Linked DNA regions of Homo sapiens: region 1 is linked to region 2. The links are contacts of gene promoters, found by promoter capture Hi-C in blood cells and fetal thymus (Javierre and others, 2016). All regions are on one chromosome and are shown on one strand. Each heading gives the region's core, a stretch centred on a gene start or on the middle of the fragment in contact. The rest is flanking DNA. Distances are from core to core; before and after follow the strand shown. Region 1 overlaps IP6K2 (inositol hexakisphosphate kinase 2). Region 2 holds the start of RHOA (ras homolog family member A).

What was found. The method cuts DNA at HindIII sites, captures the fragments that hold promoters and counts their contacts. A CHiCAGO score of 5 or more calls a contact.
Region 1: a fragment that was not itself captured here is called in contact with the fragment with the promoter of RHOA in region 2 in 1 of 17 cell types (fetal thymus); the score reaches 5.2 in fetal thymus.

The regions. Positions count from the first base shown.
Region 1 is chr3:48,713,792-48,717,120 of GRCh38, forward strand. The region is part of intron 1 of IP6K2 (inositol hexakisphosphate kinase 2); the gene reads right to left. Among named protein-coding and RNA genes, the nearest start is that of IP6K2, 1.8 kb to the right of the region's middle. The HindIII fragment of the contact is 517 bases long and covers 1,735-2,251 here.
Region 2 is chr3:49,410,645-49,413,561 of GRCh38, forward strand. It overlaps RHOA (ras homolog family member A), which reads right to left and starts at 1,332. Exons shown (of 5, transcript NM_001664.4): 1 at 1,176-1,332. TCTA (T cell leukemia translocation altered) reads left to right here and starts at 1,779. Exons shown (of 3, transcript NM_022171.3): 1 at 1,779-1,996; 2 at 2,412-2,466. The coding sequence starts at 1,783. RefSeq lists enhancers at 479-1,453, 1,352-1,646, 1,582-1,991 and silencers at 772-861, 872-1,151, 1,212-1,511. The HindIII fragment of the contact is 2,031 bases long and covers 555-2,585 here.

The DNA.
Region 1 (3,329 bases), core at 743-3,242, 700 kb before region 2:
AAAAAAAAAAAAATAGTAATACAAAAAAGAAAGAAAAAGGCCAGGTGCGGTGCAGTGGCTCACGCCTGTAATCCCAACACTTTGGGAGGCCGAGGTGGGTGGATCACCTAAGGTCAGGAGTTCGAGGCCAGCCTGGCCAACATGGTGAAACCCCGTCTCTACTAAAAATACAAAAATTAGCCAGGTGCGGTGGCACATGCCTGTAGTCCCAGCTACTAGGGAGGCTGAGGCAGGAGAATCGGTTGAACCTGAGAGGCGAAGGTTGTAGTGAGCTGAGATCTGGCCACTGCACTCCAGCCTGGGTGACAGAGCGAGACTCCGTCTCATTAAAAACAAAACAAAACAAAACAAAAAACCCCTGAATCTTAAAGGGAGCATATCCCAGAAATTTGTTTAGTTTTGTTTTTTTGAGACAGAGGATCCTGCCACCACACCCAGCTAATTTTTGTATTTTTAGTAGAGACAGGGTTTCACCATGTTGGCCAGACTGGTCTCAAACTCCTGACCTCAAGTGATCTGCCCACCTCGGCCTCCCGAAGCGTTGGTGTTACTGGCGTGAGCCACCACGCTCGGCCCTTTCTTTTTCCTTTTTTTTGTGTGTGTGTGTGTGTGTTTTTTTGAGATGGAGTCTCACTCTGTCGCCCAGGCGGGAGTGCAGTGGTGTGATTTTGGCTCACTGCAATCTCCACCCCCTGGGTTCAAACGATTCTCTTGCTTCAGCCTCCTGAGTAGCTGGGATTCCAGGCACCTGCCACAGAGGCTGGCTAGTTTTTGTATTTTTAGTAGAGACGGGGTTTCACCAGGTTGGCCAGGCTGGTCTTGAACTCCTGACCTCATGATCCAACCGCCTTGGCCTCCCAAAGTGCTGGGATTACATGCATGAGCCACCAAGCCTGGCCCTGGCCCTTTCTTTCTTTAAAAGGTAGGGCAGGCCAGGCGCGGAGGCTGAGGCAGGCTGAGGCAGGAGAATGGCGTGAACCCGGAAGGCGGAGCTTGCAGTGAGCCGAGATCGCACCACTGCACTTCAGCCTGGGCGACAGAGAGAGACTCCGTCTCAAAAAAAAAAAAAAAAAAAAAGTAGGGCAGTGATGGGGATAGGCACAGTGTAGATGAAACAAGATTGGCCAGGAATTAGTAACTACTGAAGCTGGTTATGGATGACAGACCCAAATCAACTGTGCATCATCTCGGCAAATTGACTTCTCCAAATCCTGAAGTGGGCTCTAAACTCAATTTTTGGAGAGAAGGACATTTCCTTGCCACCAGAATATACTGTAAAACACAACTACTTCTTATTACTTTTATTATATGGTACACAAATAGGCAAAAACATAATTTAAAAAAACAAAAACATGCTTTAAAATGTAATAACATGAGAATAATCATCTGCTTACTTTCTAATGTATAAGAGTGTGTTCAATTTGTTACCCAAGATTATCCCACTAGGTGAAATAACTTCACTTAAAGGGAAAATTCTTCCCCAGTGCATCCTCTTTATGAGCCAAACAATGGAAAATTTTCACCTCAGTAAGCTGGCCTCAGGGAGGTTCAGGCTCATCCCTGTTGCCTAGATACCAGTGACATCTCAGGAGCTTACAGAAGGCTCTGGCATCCCTCTTGGAAGGGAGACTGGCAAAGGTTCATCAGTCAGTGGTTGCTCCTTCTTTCCTGGCACATTCCACTGCTCAGACAGATACAGGGCTAGCATACAGTGTACCTGTCTGTCACCTAGGAAGCTTTGAAACACAAAAGAAATCTATTATATCTGTTACACTGATTTCTAGATCTCCCAGGTCCCTGCCTTGCTCCCTCCCTACCCAGGCCCTGCATAAAAAACAAACCAAACAAACAAAAAGCTAGTTTCTACAATTGTATTAACTCTAGTCAGTGTTCTTATCCATTTCATTTCTTTCTCTCTCTCTCTTTTTTTTTTTTTTTTTGTAGAGACAGGGTGTTGCTATGTTGCCCAGGTTGATCTTGAACTGCTGGGCTCAAGTGATTCTCCATTTGATTTCTAACAATGCCTGTGAATTCTAAAGTCACAAAGCAGGTAAATCTATCGAAATGACAATGTCAGACAAGACCACAGAAAATAGAAAAAAAATTTTAAATGACAGTTAACAGTTTAACTTTTTCTCAAAAAAAAAAAAAGTTACTAGGCCATCAATTTGCCTATTATGTCAAATGTGATAAAGTATTCATTTGGCCCTTTCTAACTCTGATAGTGGCTAAAGTTAAAACAACACCCTGAAGCTTCTCTTTAAATACTTAACACCCAAGTTACACGATGCAATTATACAAACCCCACAGCAACAACCTATATAAATAAGCATCTTAGTTCACTTAAAATATTACCTGGCTACAACTGCAAATACAGCAAACATTTTAAACACTAGAATTCAACAAAATTACTGTAATCATGGTCCTCTATTAAAAATATCATAGAACCGATGATCTACAACATTTTTGTTACCACGTTCCAAAGTGCCAGTACTTTTTCTTAAAACTATTCAAGATGATTTTTTGTTCTGTGTACATTCTGCTACGGAAATGTTTAATTCCAAGCAGTGACTAGTTCTGTTTTCCCTGGTATTTAAGAGCACTGGATTTTACTGGTTTCTACATTTTATTTTCACTCACTTTTCTGCTAGTGTAGCTTAGTTGATATATGAGAACGAATACAATCCTAAAATGAAATAAGCCATTAGGATGCAAAAGACAAAAGCGGTCTGTAATCAAACGTAAAGAGTGGAAATATCACTATAAAGGTGTCCTCTTATCCATTTAAAGGCATTTTTTCTATAATAAGGTTAAGTGTGTAGATTCCCTCATCGAACACCATCTGACGGGCCCAAATGGCATTCAACACTCAAAATGGCTGCACATCTGCCGACCCCAGGTAACAGTACCTGAGGCGCTGAGCTGACTCCCTATCCAAAGATCCGGGAAGACCCCTCCACCCGCCAAATATCTGGGGAGATCGTGGCCGCCAATGACCTGGGGAGACCCCTCAATGACACCGTAGATCTTGCGCTTCCCAAGACCCGGGGAGATCTCAATGACCAGGAAAGATCCTGCCCTCCCCCAAACCCGGGAGACCCCCTCCAATGACCGGGGAGGATGCTGGACCCCCAAAACCACGGAAATCCCTCCCCCAATGATCAGAAGAAAAACCCTCCTCCCAAATGACCCAGGGAAATCGAATCCACAGGGACCCCGGGAGATTTCCCCCACAATGACCACGGAAGAAGTCTTTCCCAAATAACCTGGGAGACTCCAATGATCAGAGATCCCGTTTCCCAGTAGCCTGAAAAAATCTCCCTCAAAGC
Region 2 (2,917 bases), core at 82-2,581:
ACATCTAAGGTGACAATCATCCGCATGGTACACATTACACATCTGGGTGATACTAAGTGGTTGAAAAATTCTCTCCACATACAACATTTTAAATTATGGAAGTTTTTTGGTTTTTCAATTTTTCTCCTTCAGAAAGGCAGAGTGAAATATCTACTTACACACCTGCAAGAAACGTTTAAGACTTTCTTCAAGACAGAACCAAACAAGTCAACAACAGAGGTAAAAATTTAAAATCAGAACTATTAAAAAACACAAGTGGAACCAACTTTGAGGTAAAAAGGATTCCAATTTTCCACCGTAAACTACTAAACAAGGTTTGTGAACAAATCAACTTGGATGCGAATAGCGCTATTCAATGAAGACGACCCGTAACTGTAGATCCAATCAGTAACTAAGGTACAGATATTTAGATCATTCCTAATCAATACAGCGACTTCGACTAAGCAACATTGCATCTATTTTCATGCAACATCGCTTAAATCATTTACAGTTTTGTGTGTTGTTTTTTTTTTCCAAATGGAAAATACCCCTTTTCCACTCAAAACAGACCCCAAAGCTTTCAGACGAGTTCGGGCGCGTTCCAGGTGGTATGGCCGTAGATCATACCCCTAAGCGTTCAATACAATCTTTTACTTACTTACACAGTCTCCAACAAGTCTGCATTAAAAGAAAACCTACCCAAAGTGTAACTGGACTTTAATCAATATGAAACAGTGATTGTCGTTTCTCGTTAAACGTAAAAAGCAAAATGGAGTTGTAAAGAGTTTCTTTCCCATTTCAACTCCGACAGCCACGCGCGCTTTCAGCGGCCGGCTACACTGCGCGGTCGCGGGGCCCGGCCCAAAGCCCCCGCCCTGCCCGGCGCCGCTGGGAGAGGAAGCTCCGGGGACCGAGGGCGGGCAGGCGGGCAGCCTGGGCTCCACCAGGCCCGGCCGGGCGGGGGAAGGGGCACAGGAGACTACCGGGCGCGCTTCCGGGGACTGCGCGGGCGGGGTCGCCGCTTGGGGCGCGGGGCCCGGGCTGGGAGTCAGGTCAAGGGTCAGGGGCCAGGGGCGGCTCGGCCACGAGCAGCCGGTGGGGCGCGGCCGCGGCGGTGCGGCGGCCTGCCGGCCGGAAGAGTACCGGGCTGGCGGGCCTGGGGCCCCGCGGCGCCTGGAGGGAACCCTTCCGCTCACCTCAGGCAACGAATCCGAGTCCAGCCTCTTCGCGCCGGGGACGCCGGTCCGCGAGTCGCAAACTCGGAGACGAAGGCGGGTAGCTGAAGACCAGACCGTGGACTAACGAGAGAACCGACGGAGGACCGCGGGCGGCGGGAGGGTAGCGCGAGAGAGCGAGGGCGGGCGGCGGCGGGAGGGCGGGGAACGACGTGCGCGCCTCCGAGTGCCCAGCGGGCTCGAGCCGGCACAGGTCGCGGCCCCGCGCACGCGCGCGCACTCACAGCTCATCCACTATTGCTCAGGAGCCCGTCCACGCCCTAAAAGCAAAACCCTTAACCAATCATTGCAGCCGCGTGGGGCATCACGGGAACTCCGGGGCTATAAAAGACCTGGTTGCTATTTTGTACTCCCGGAGTCACTCATCCCTTAAGCAAGCAGGGTGGGGTTAGGTGCGCGTGCGCGGTTTTAATACTCCTCCCCGAACTGCCAACTCTTCACGCACGCGAAGTAGGCCCCACCCTGGCTGGGTTTACGCGTGCGCACTAACGGGCCTGGTCCCGGAAGACCACACGCGTGCGTGGTGGGGACTACGGTGACAGTACCCCGGGTGGGGCGAGGGCCAGTCATGGCGGAGTCCTGGTCTGGGCAGGCCTTGCAGGCTCTGCCGGCCACGGTGCTGGGCGCGCTGGGCAGCGAGTTCTTGCGGGAGTGGGAGGCGCAGGACATGCGCGTGACCCTCTTCAAGCTGCTGCTGCTGTGGTTGGTGTTAAGTCTCCTGGGCATCCAGCTGGCGTGGGGGTTCTACGGGAATACAGTGACCGGGTTGTATCACCGTCCAGGTGAGGCTTCCTACGAACCTCCGTGGGCTGGCCGCCCCCGCCCCCACCCTCTCCCGACTGTACCATTGGGTTCCCCACTATCCTGCAAGAGGCTCATCAGAACTTAACATTGGTTCACGGCCTTACTACCCTGAACGCATCTGACCTCGGAAGCTAAGCCAGGTACTTGGATGGGAGAACTTAACGTTGTGCCCTGACTCATGCCACCATACCATTTTACGCCAGAATCCCCACCAGTCCACCCATCACATTGTATCTGTTCCTCAGAACTCTCACCTGGCAATACCATTAGTCCCTTAGGACCCTCACCAGACTTCACCAAACAATACCAGTGGTCTCTAACCTGACCTGGGCTGATGCCTGCTCAGATTCCCACCCCAGCCTTCTGCAGCTCTGGATGTGTTTCTGCCTCCAGGTCTGGGTGGTCAGAATGGATCCACGCCTGATGGCTCCACGCATTTCCCTTCGTGGTGAGTAAATCTGTCCATACCGCAACCCCATGCTTGGCATTCCAAGGACACTCCTGTGCTGGTGACAGAGAGGGGAGTTCTCAGGCTTTAAGCCCACCAGCTTAATGGCCTTTGCAGCAAGCTTCAAGTCTGCACGTAGAGCTCAGGCTTCAAGTTAGGGTGACACCAAGGTCTGGACAGTCCATCATCATGCTGTTCAGCAGCCTGTAGGATAGGTGGTGGTATTGTCATAATTTCAGAGAGATGAAATGACAGGTTTGTTGGATTCCACTCTGCACAATCCCCTCAGTTGGGAAGGCAGTAATCTCTGTCCTGAGCACATTGACCTCATCAGGGTCAGCCTCCTCTTCTGCAAAACATGCGCTCACTAATCAGGGCATTCATTCAGATAATCTCTGGGCCCCTATCACGTGATAGGGGCCACACGAGGCCCAGAGAACAAAGACAACCC